4 separate regions of the Homo sapiens genome follow, and regions 1, 3 and 4 are each linked to region 2. The links are contacts of gene promoters, found by promoter capture Hi-C in blood cells and fetal thymus (Javierre and others, 2016). All regions are on one chromosome and are shown on one strand. The core of a region is centred on a gene start or on the middle of the fragment in contact, and the rest is flanking DNA. Distances in the headings are between cores, read along the strand shown. Region 1 overlaps ZDHHC14 (zDHHC palmitoyltransferase 14). Region 2 holds the start of ZDHHC14 (zDHHC palmitoyltransferase 14). Region 3 has its middle 66 kb from the start of SNX9. Region 4 overlaps SNX9 (sorting nexin 9).

The links. The method cuts DNA at HindIII sites, captures the fragments that hold promoters and counts their contacts. A CHiCAGO score of 5 or more calls a contact.
Region 1: a contact is called between a fragment that was not itself captured here and the fragment with the promoter of ZDHHC14 in region 2, in 3 of 17 cell types (endothelial precursors, naive B cells and total B cells). The highest score is 7.6, in endothelial precursors.
Region 3: a contact is called between a fragment that was not itself captured here and the fragment with the promoter of ZDHHC14 in region 2, in 2 of 17 cell types (naive B cells and activated CD4 T cells). The highest score is 5.4, in naive B cells.
Region 4: a fragment that was not itself captured here is called in contact with the fragment with the promoter of ZDHHC14 in region 2 in 2 of 17 cell types (naive CD4 T cells and total B cells); the score reaches 5.9 in naive CD4 T cells.

What each region holds. Positions count from the first base shown.
Region 1 is chr6:157,656,666-157,659,365 of GRCh38, forward strand. The region is part of intron 8 of ZDHHC14 (zDHHC palmitoyltransferase 14); the gene reads left to right. Among named protein-coding and RNA genes, the nearest start is that of MIR3692, 130 kb to the left of the region's middle. The HindIII fragment of the contact is 2,446 bases long and covers 28-2,473 here.
Region 2 is chr6:157,379,772-157,382,471 of GRCh38, forward strand. It overlaps ZDHHC14 (zDHHC palmitoyltransferase 14), which reads left to right and starts at 1,419. Exons shown (of 9, transcript NM_024630.3): 1 at 1,419-2,495. The coding sequence starts at 2,251. It overlaps LOC124901446, which reads right to left and starts at 1,320. Exons shown (of 1, transcript XM_047419644.1): 1 at 1-1,320. The coding sequence starts at 930. The coding sequence ends at 40. RefSeq lists enhancers at 1-355, 967-1,578, 2,337-2,476 and silencers at 557-636, 797-1,686, 2,197-2,246. The HindIII fragment of the contact is 8,143 bases long and covers 105-2,700 here.
Region 3 is chr6:157,755,426-157,758,146 of GRCh38, forward strand. No RefSeq gene overlaps it. Among named protein-coding and RNA genes, the nearest start is that of SNX9, 66 kb to the right of the region's middle. RefSeq lists a silencer at 1-186. The HindIII fragment of the contact is 2,142 bases long and covers 186-2,327 here.
Region 4 is chr6:157,872,903-157,875,602 of GRCh38, forward strand. It overlaps SNX9 (sorting nexin 9), which reads left to right. Exons shown (of 18, transcript NM_016224.5): 3 at 200-274; 4 at 2,149-2,274. Among named protein-coding and RNA genes, the nearest start is that of SNX9-AS1, 19 kb to the right of the region's middle. RefSeq lists a silencer at 909-978. The HindIII fragment of the contact is 665 bases long and covers 1,071-1,735 here.

The sequences.
Region 1 (2,700 bases), core at 1-2,500, 280 kb after region 2:
TCTGTGGGCTTGAGCACTGTGTCAGGAAGCTTGAAGATACCAAAAAAAAAAAACAAAAAAAAAAAAAACAAGACTCCTTGCCCTCCTGTTCTCTGCTGTGACTGAGGATGAGACAGTCTGAACACCCCAGGAAAGAGCTGCATGCGACATCACCATGCCACTGAGCACCAGGCAGATCAGGAGGAGCTCTGGACCTGGAAGCAGAGCCTCTTCACTGCTGGCCTCAGGCTGATGGCATACAGAATCATGGTGGGATTGAGTAAGGACCTGCGGCCCTGGTCACCTGCCCAGGGTGACAGTGCACTCTCTGCCATGCATACCTGAGTGTAGGTGGCTTCACATCTCCTGTAGCATCTTCTTGCCATCCGTACACACAAAGGGTATTTGTATTTTTTTTTTTTAAGACAGGGTCTCACTCTGTCGCCCAGGCTGAAGTGCAGTGGTGAAATCTCAGCTCACTGCAACCTTCACCTCCTGGTCTCAAGGTGATCCTCCTACCTCAGCCTCCTGAGTAGCTGGGACCACAGGCATGTGCCACCATGCCCAGCTAATTTTTGCATTTTTTGTAGAGACAGTTTTGCCATGTTGCCCAGGCTGGTCTCGAACTCCTGACCTCAAGCGATCCACCTGCCTCAGCCTCCCAAAGTGTTGAGATTACAAGTGTAAGCCACTGCACACGGCCATTCATTCCTTTACTCAGGCATGCACAGATCTTTCCAGAGAGCTTCCAGGGGAAGGCTTGAAAGCACTGTTGGGTATAAAGAAGTGAACAAGGCTCACATGCACCTGGGAGCTGTTCGGTACAAAAACACTCCAGCGTCACAGCCCCAGCGAATCCATGCCCAGTGAGTCTAGGCTCAGGCACATGATATGTGCACGAAATCTCAGGATCAAGGTCTTGCTTTAAAGCCCATGGACCCCATGCTAAAGAAGCCCTCCATCAGTGAGTACCATGGTCTACCGCCTCCATACCAGAGACAAAACTGTAAGAAATCTCAACATCCTGGGAGTCATACGCGTATAAGCACTACTCCGGATTTGGTAATAGCACAGAATTGTATAGTCAAGTCCCCTAAGCAGGATGTTCCAGCCAGTGATAAAAGCTGTACAGAGACATCTGTTCCACATGCTAAATGCTTTCGAGTCAGCCAGCAGGCTTTAAGATGCCTTTTTATCCCCATCTGGAAGAGGAACATTGGAGATGGGGATTCACTGTGTGGAGACCAGACTGCTACCGCTTACTAGAAGCATGACCTTGATGAGTTGCTTAACCTCTCTCTGCCTCAGTGTTTTCATCTATAAAATGGGAACATTGATATTCTTACCTTGTAGGGTTTCTATGAGGATTAAGTTAAGACATGTCAAGCACTTAAAACCTTGCCTAGTAGAAGAAAAGTACTATTTAAGTGTCGGCTATTATTATTATCCCCCTGAGACCCATGAGTGGCAAGATGAGCGAGCTCAACTGTACCCTCTTGGAGCAACCGGAAAATAATAGAGATGACTGGCATGAGGGAAAGAGCCCAGAATGGGAACCAGGGAATGAGAGCTCCCATTCTGGCTCCTGCCAGTTAGTTCCCTGATGATTGGCAGGTCACTCTTGCCTCACTGGTCCTCAGTTTTCCTCATCTGCAAAATAGGAGGTGGGATTAATTTGTACCTAAAGCCCCCTTTTAGCTGTGAGCCTTTTGTGAGTCTCTGATCCTTGCAGCTCCACCAGGAGATTAGGAGGGCAGAGACAACATCTCAGTCCACACATGCCAGAAAGAGCTCTCCAAACCCCAGAAGAAGGTAAACACCGTGACTCTCAGCTCCTCCTCTCCTCCCACCCACCCTGACCAACAGCCCCCAAACTGACTAAGCCCGCACTTGACACAGGATTGGGGGTGTGCTGTGGGGCTATGCGCAGTCTGGCCGTCATACCAGAACTTTCTTGAGAGTAGGAGTGTGTGTTGCTTTTCTTATTTGTCTCCTATTTCTTGAATTTATGGGATAAATCCTACTTGGCCATGGTATATAATCCTTTTTATATGTTGCTAAATTCAGTTTGCTAGTATTTTGTTAAGGATCGTTCTGTCTGTATTCATAAGGGAATTGTCTGTAGTTTTATTTTCTCGTGAAGTCTTTGTCTGGTGTTGGTATCGGGGTAATACCGGCTTCATGGAAGGAGTTGAGAAGTGCTTCTTACTCTTCTGTCTCGAAAAGTTTGTGAAGAACTGCTGTTAATTCATCTTTAAAGATTTGGGACAATTTGCCAGGAAAGCCATTTAGTCTTGAACTTTCTCCATGGGTATTGTTTTGATTACTAATTCACTCTACTTATTATAGGTCTATTCAGATTTTTTACTTTTCCCTTGGGTCAGTCTCAGTGGTATGTGTCTTTCTAGGAATTTATCCATTTCATCTAAGTTATCTAATTTGTTACCGTTTTCTCATCTGTCAATATTGTTTTATTATGAAAATAGATGAGGGAAGCTTAAGGACTGAAAAAGTTAAATTGAAAATGAGAATAATTTGTAAAACTGGAGGGGAAGAGAAGAAGCAGTCAAAGACTTCAGTGAAAGTCAAGAGGCACTTGAAGTAAGCCCTGAAGGGGAGAAATTGGTATTTTGTATTTTTTAAACATTCTGTGAAATGCACATGCCAGCCGAGAGACCTGGGAACCTCTAGCAGAGCGAGTTCCAGCGTGGTCTCCGGGCC
Region 2 (2,700 bases), core at 169-2,668:
CGACACTCCTCACTGAGGCACGCTTTGTAAGGGACATACTTAGGGCTCTGGGTTCGATGCCATCTCTACTACTTGGGAGCTTTGTGATGTTTGGCCAGTAGTTAAGCTTTCTCTAAGCTGGATACAATAATGCCTCACCGGGTTCCGGCGAAGATTAGACAAAGAACATGTGTAACGTGCAAACTGCCCAGTACAGAGAAGGCACCGTTCCCCACAACCCCCTTTGTTGGTTCCCATCTCCCACCACCTAGCCCCAGAACGCCCAGCACCACGCCTCTCCTGCCCTTGTCGCGGGGGATGCAGGGACTTGTAGTTTCTAAGGCCCCGAGTCGTGCTTCTCCTCGGCGCAGGCCTGCGGGCGGAAGAACTACACATCCCAGTGGGCTGTGAAAGGAAAGTGGGGCTCGGGAAATTGAGCATCCCTGCCCAGCTGCCTTCGTTTTCTGCGGCCCCGGGGCTATGCCCACCTCTGCGGGGGCTCGGACCCGCGGCAACGCCTGGGAGGGCGCGAGCGAGCAGAAGCCCCAGGCTCCGGCCGTCCCAGGGCCGCGCCCGCAGCTCCTCCTGGGCTGTCGGGTGGGAAGGGGGGAGGCGCAGGCGGGAGAGGAGAAGCACGCGACCCCTCCGCTGCCGAGGGGGCTCCACGGGGGAATGGAGGGAGAAATAAAGCGAGCAGCTGTAAACGTCCGTGGGGAGAAGTGGAGACCGAAAGAGCTGGGCGGCAGCAACCCAAAACCTGGCCTCCAAGGGCTTATACTCCGGGAGGGAGGCCGGGGCCGGAGGGGACCCTGACCGCTTCCTCTGCCCTTCTTTCTCGGCCCGGAAGCCGGCCGAGCCGGGCCCCGAGACCCTCGCCCGCAGCCCGGTCCCGAAGTCAGGCCGGCCTAGGGCCGCCCCACCCCATCCTGGCACCCGGCACCCCCAGCCCATTTCTCGGGCATCACCAGAGTCCCCGGGCGACGCGACCACGCGCCCAGCTGGGGAGGAGGAAGAAGGGAGGCGCAGGCCGGGGAGGGTCACCTCCGCGCCGCGGCTCCTCAGGTCCCGGGGAGTCGCCAGGAGTGGCTTGCCGGTGGCCGTGGGAATGAGCGTGTCCCGAGGCGGCAGCTGCTGCGCGGGATAAACCCGGAAGAAGCCGCGAGACGGACTGAAGTCGGCCAGGAGCGCACTGCGCGGCGGGGCCGCGGGCGCCCGACCCCATCCCTACTTGGGCGATGCCACAGGGAGCCCCGCGCCTTCCACACCCCAGGGCGCCCGCCCGAGGGGGCTGGGGCTGGAATCTCGCTGCGCCGGTGCCCTGGCTTCGCGGGCGAGGAGGAGGAGGAGCAGGAGGAGGAGCCGCGGGTGAGGCGCGAGGCCACCGCCCACCCGGCCCGGAGGAGGCGGACCCACTCGGAGCGCCGCGCGCGCGCCGGGCTGAGCCTTGCAAACAAGTGTCTGTGCTGTGTCCCCGCGGCCCTCCTCGCGCCGGGGCCGCTTCCTCCGGGTAGGAGGGAGCAAGGGAGCCCTCGCCGCGCGGCCCGCGAGCCGCCGCCGCCCTCGGCCCGCGCATCCCCGCGCGGGGGCCGCGGATTCGACTAGGCTGCCAGGCGCAGCGACACCGGGTCGCGGTGCGAGCGGCGCCCCGGCTCTCGCCGAGAGGCTCCTGACAGAAAAACGTGCGTGGTTGTCCCCACCCCTGGGAGGGGTTGCCGGTGCCGCGCGCGGCCGCCCAGTCGCCAGCGCTCTCTCCTGGGAGGATCCGCTGCCGGAGGAAGGAGTGGACCCAACCTGGCCGCGCCGCAGAAGTGGCTCCCGAGGAAGCCGGCGCCGGGGCCGCCGCCTCGTGTCCCCTCGGGGCGCAGTGCTCGGGGGTCGGCGGGCCAGAGCCGAGGCGCGGCCGGGGAGCCGGGGGCTGCGGGGCCGAGCGGGCAGCCGCGCGAGGGGGCGGGCGCTCGGCGACCCGGGGGCCGGCCGGGCTGAGCCCCGCGCCCCGGGACGCGGGCTGGAAGCGACGGAGGAGTGCTGCCGCGGGCTGCGGACCAGCGCCGTCCCCTCACGGAGCGGGGATTCTGCTATGACAGTTGGGCTCCCCGGAGGGTTAACCTGGGTGTCCTCGGCAAAGTTGTCGCCGAGCCGGGAGCCCGTGTAGGGGCCGCGGCGCCGCGGCTCGGGGGGCGGCCGGGCGGCCGGCGGCGGTCGTGGCTCGGCGGGGCCCGCGCGGCCGGGGGGCTCCTGGGGGTGTGCGCCCCCAGCCGGCTGCCCTCGTGGATGCCTCCCGGCGGCGGCGGGCCCATGAAAGACTGCGAGTACAGCCAGATCAGCACCCACAGCTCCTCCCCCATGGAGTCGCCCCACAAGAAGAAGAAAATCGCGGCCCGGAGGAAATGGGAGGTGTTCCCGGGAAGAAACAAGTTCTTCTGTAACGGGAGGATCATGATGGCCCGGCAGACGGGCGTCTTCTACCTGACGCTCGTCCTCATCCTGGTCACTAGCGGACTCTTCTTCGCCTTCGAGTAAGTGGTGGCGACCGCTCCCCCGACGCCGCACTCCCCTGGTCTCCCCTGTCCCCCGCCCCTCCTCGGGCTGCTTTCGTTTTCTAGAAGTCTTATCTACTGTAAATTGTTATATAATGCCAGTCTGCGCTCCCTCTTTTTTCTTTTAAAGGTCTGATTGCTTTTGGGCCCCCGGAAAGAACGCCGTTCTGGGCTGGGCTTCTGG
Region 3 (2,721 bases), core at 7-2,506, 380 kb after region 2:
CCAGCTGAGAGTTTATAGACATTTCTCTTTGAACATGTGGAACAACAAAGACTACTGATAGACTGTTGGGCATAATTTTAGAATTTGCCTTATTTTGTCAAAGATTAAAGAAAGAAAAGGCCACTTTCCCACTATTCGATTTAACTCAGTCGGATTATACGGTGACAATGTCACTCACTGATTTAAGCTTGAATGTGAGAGATTTAAAAGCAATGGCTTGAAAGGAGTTGTTTTGCATCTTAAAAGAAACCACGACTTCAGAGTGATTTTGATTTTCCATTCCTACAAAGGAAGAAACGAAGCTAAATGCTTTTAATCCTAAAAGTGCCCTTTCAGAATTTCTGGGATCACGGTTGCAAGGCAGAAGTGGAGAACTACCCATTGGATGCCTCTCCAGGAGTCACATCTGTCTCCTCAGACTTTGATCTTCTCAGACATTGCTGGAGAGGCAGGGACAGAAAGTTCAGATGCTACGGAAAGACAGTGTGGGTCAGACCACACAGTGTTCCTTTGAAACTCCTGGCTTACTGGCTTTCCCCCACCCACCCATCAAGTGTGTCCTTTGAGGTGAGACATAACATCAGCTGACTAACAAGATGTTTGCCAGTAATCACATCTGATGACAGTAAATGTCAGTCTCCCAACACAATTTCTATTTTATTTCATTAATACCATCCTCAGTGGTTTGCTTGAAAGGGTTAAATTAGCTAGGCATGGTGGCTCATGCCTGTAATCCCTACACTTTGGGAGGCTGAGGTAAGCAGATCACTTGAGGTCAGGAGTTCAAGACCAGCCTGGGCAACATGGTGAAACCCTGTCTCTACAAAAAATACAAAAATTGGCTGGGCGTGGTGGCAAGTGCCTGTAGACCCAAGTACTTGGGGGGCTGAGGCAGGAGGATTGCTTGAACCCAGGAGGTGGAGGTTGCAGTGAGCTGTGATTGTTCCTCTGCACTCTGCACTCTAGCTGGGCAACAGAGTGAGACTCTGTCTAAAAAAAAAAAAAGAGTTAAATTGGAAAATGTATGTCTTGGTGCTCTGTAAATTGCGAAGCTCTACATAAGTATGATTCCCTGTCTTTATAAATTTGCAATCTGGTGTGCCATGTCTGGGGACAATAACTCCTTCATTGCTCCAGGCACAGAGTTCTGGATTGAGGTCCTGGCTTCTGCTTCTCCAAGATTATCCAAATTTCTTGCTCCTTGAAGGTGGACTTTGAGGACCAGCATCACTTGTGTACCCCATAGCTTCTAATGCAGCAAGCAGGGAATAGACACTCCAGCAAGCAAGTGAATAAGCAAAGAAAACCAGGCCCCCGAGACGCAGGCGGATCCCCAGGCGGATCCCCAGAGGCAACAGAGTCAAATATGCGGGAAAGAATCTGATTCCGGCCAGCAGAGGGCAGGAGCGAGAGGAAACTGGGCATCTCAGCAACAAAGCAGGCTGTGCCAACCTGCGGCCGAGGGCCAGATCGCAAGCCCCGGTGCAGAGAGGACGCCGGGAGAATCCAGCTAATTCTGACAGCCTTTCCCTTGGACTTTAGCTGTAATGTGTGTGTGTTCCATTATCTCACACATCACTGCACTGAATTCCACTTCAACTTCCACCCCCTCCCCCCACCAGGAGCTGGCAGTTAAGATATTTACCAAGATGGTGCTGCCTCTCTAGTAAAACTCAGGAGGATTAAAATAATAATAAACAAACCGAGAGAGGGAGTCCAGAAAAGTGGACTAGGAAGCACAACACAGAAGCAGCTTCAGCACTGGAAAATATTCAGTCGTAAGAATCACCATGCATTCCCTCAGTGCTTGGCAGCCACTTTCTCACTTGAGCCCCATACTCTTTGTATGAGGTATGGGGTGGCTACTTGTGGAGTGCTGTGTCTAAGTCACCCTGCATGGGAGAGGCAGCACCAGGATTCTAACTCAGGATCCTGGGGCCTTATCCACGGCACTCTGTTACCGGGGACACGCTCATTCACTCAACAAACCTTCACGGACTGCCCATCAGTTCTTGTGCCAGGTATACAGAAGGGAAGGACACGGTCCTGTCCTCCAAGAGCTCATCCTCCAAAAGAGCATGGATACTAATAAACAGTCACAGTTTGGTATGACATGGCCATGACAGAGAAGAGTCACCCAACGCAAACTGGGAGGGCCAGTGAACATTTCCAGGAGGAAGTGACAGAAGTTGCCCTGCTGATGACCTCAGTGGCACCATTCATTTTATCACTATGTACCAGAAAATTGTCATAATCTACAGTGACCTCAGATGTGCACAGGGCACCCTCCACCTCTTTGCAATGCCCCTTGCACAGCCATACTGGGAAGCTTGCAGCTGAACCAAGCTTTGAAGGATGACTAGGAGCAGGCAATCAAAGAAAGGAATAGGGGCTAGGGCTGGCGTCGGGTGGAGGGATTCTGGGTGAAGGGGTTGGCACCAGCATAGGGGGTAGGCCTGAGAAATGTCCCCACAGCTGGAGCGTAGGTCTCAGGAGGAATGGTAACAAGAAGACTAAGAAGCAGATGGGGAGGCCAGGAGTTTGAGGAGCTTGGGCAACATAGCAGGACCTCGTCTCCACAAAAAGAAATTAAAAATTAGCCGGCCATGGTGGTGCATGCCTGTAGTCCCACTTACTCAGGAGGCTGAGGCAGGAGGATCACTTGAGCCCAGGAGTTCAAAGTTACAGTGAGGTGTGATCTCACTGCTGCACTCCAGCCTC
Region 4 (2,700 bases), core at 153-2,652, 490 kb after region 2:
TTTCTTGTTTTTAGGTTACATCATTTTCTGAAGTAAAGAGAAGGCTTAAGAATTTAAGATTTTGAACGGTGTTCTCTAGGAATGAAAAGCTTAATGTTAATTGCTTTTTTTATGTATAACAATTCCTCCACACAAAATTTCTCCAGGAAATCTCAACTGTAATCTTTTTCTTTTTTTTTTTTTTTTGGTGACTTATTAGGATGTAGGTGGAGGATGGCTGGAAGGAAGAAACATCAAAGGAGAACGAGGGCTGGTTCCCACAGACTACGTTGAAGTAAGAGCTTCCTGTCATTCATTCATTAGAGCTCATCTTTGCCAGGCATCTTTTTATGAATTATCAACTTACAAGAAGTCAGCAACTTTTTGCAAAACAAAATTTCCATTGTAAATATAATAAATGTTAACTATATAAAATATGGAAACTACATTGAAATAGAACTAAGAAAAATATTACCTGTAGACCCAAGCTTCAAAGAATGACTACAGATATTTAGGTTAAGTTTCTTCCAGGGATAGCAACTTTTAATTGGTCTGAATAAAAGTTAGTATTTTTCCTTTGCTAATATTATCTATATTATAAATATATATTATAAATTGTATAAATTCAATAAGATATATGAAATTATATCTCAATATATCTGTTAATATATACATTTTAAATATATATTTATATTTTTATAAGCAAAATATATAAATTTTATAAAATGTATTATAAATTATATAAATTATAAATATAGATATATATTTATAATATGACACATATAACGTATTTTTCCTTTGCTGATATTGCTGCCATCTATAATATTGTTTATTGTACAATAGACTCACAGTTTAAATAGATTTTTTTAAGTGCATATCTCAGTTCCTTCTCCCATTCCCATAGACAGAGGGGTGTCTTGGGGGAGCTGCTGTGGGGATCTCCTGGGTAGAGCTGTTAGGATGGATACCCAGGAGAGCAACACAGCAGCCTGGGCTGGTCCTGCCTGGGACACCCCCAAGCTGAGCCAACCACCTGGCGCCCCCTGCTGGTTGTCTTTCGGTCCCTCCAAACCGAGCGAAGGTTCTTGGTAAGCTTGTCTTTCATGTTGGGTGACAGAAAGAAGCGAAGGTTTCCTGATGCCCTGTGAGTACAACTGGAGCTAGATCAAGAATAAAGGTACCTTTGGTTCACCTCCAGGAGAAAAGAATTCCCCCCAGAGGATGTTTACCTGGGACCTGTCTGCAGAGTGAGATCTAAGGCCGTCCTTCTGTTGTTGATAGACAGTGAGGGTGGGGAGTCATGACCCCTCAGAGAATCCGATGCAATCTCTAGGCTTTCCCTCAGAAACGTGTGCCCATGCACACACCACAGCCTTTTCCATACAACTGCAACCCCCTATTCACAGGCCCCTGGCCTCACTCCGTAGGTCTTATGTTGAAGTCTTGTTTTACTTGTATGCACTTTGCATCCAGGAGCCCACAAATTGACAAGATTGAGAAAAATCTGAGAATTTAAGTTGATATTGGCAGTAATTGGATTTTCTAGGATTCTGCTTATATAAAGGAATAGTGATTACAGATATTCTTGGGTTTGCTTACCTTTAAGAATATAAAACCCCCTCTATTAGAAATAGATCCTGCAGGCAGAAAATCAGTAAGGACGTGGTTGAACTCAGCACCATCAATAAATTGATGTCCACTTAGGGACATCTATAGACTGCTTCATCAAACCACAGCAGCATACACATTCTTTTCAAGCTTACATGGAACATTCTCTAAGACAGACCACATATTCTGAGCCATAAAACATACCTCAACATGTTTGAAAGAAATCATACAGTGTCTGCCCTGAGACCACAATGGAATCACACTAGAAATCAAAACAGAAAGATAGATGGAAAATCTGTAAATACTTAGAGATTGAACAATCCACTTCTAAATAATGCATGGATCAAAGAAGAAATCTCGAGAAATTAAAAAATAGTTTGAACTAAATAAAAATGAAAATACAACCCATTAAAATATGAGTATGCGGCAAAAGCAGTGCTTACAGAGAAATTTGTAGCATTGAAGAATATAAACCCTTTTTGACAATTCTTGCTTGCCCTCGAAGACTCCCTGAAGTGACCGTAATCTATGAAAATAATTGCGGCTCTTTCTCCTATTCAGATTTTACCCAGTGATGGAAAAGATCAATTTTCTTGTGGAAATTCAGTGGCTGACCAAGCCTTCCTTGATTCTCTCTCAGCCAGCACAGCTCAGGCCAGTTCGTCGGCTGCCAGCAACAATCACCAGGTACGTCTCACTTCCTCCTTCTGGATGTGGCTGGCTTTACGGAAAACAGAGCGTATTTGTGAAGGCTTGTGATGCATTATAGCTATTGCCATTCCCCAAAAGCAAAAACAAAGTCGCTTTTAGGTTGTTCTGTGGCATTTCTGTTGGGTACTAACAAAGAAATCACCTGTTAAGCCTGATAATGACTGTTTGCAAAATTTATTATAAGAGAAAAGGCAGGGTATTGAGGGTTGCTTTTAGAAGTCTGTCATGATATGAACACAGACCCCAGAAACTGCAAATACCCTCTTAGATAAAGGCATGGAAAGAAGAGGAAGAAGAGGAGGCTCTTGTTGTTGAGGAGGTCAGTGTCAGAGCCTCGGCCTGGATCAGGAAATAGATGCCCTGGCCCTGGCATGTTGCTTACACTCTCAGAGCTAGAGGCCC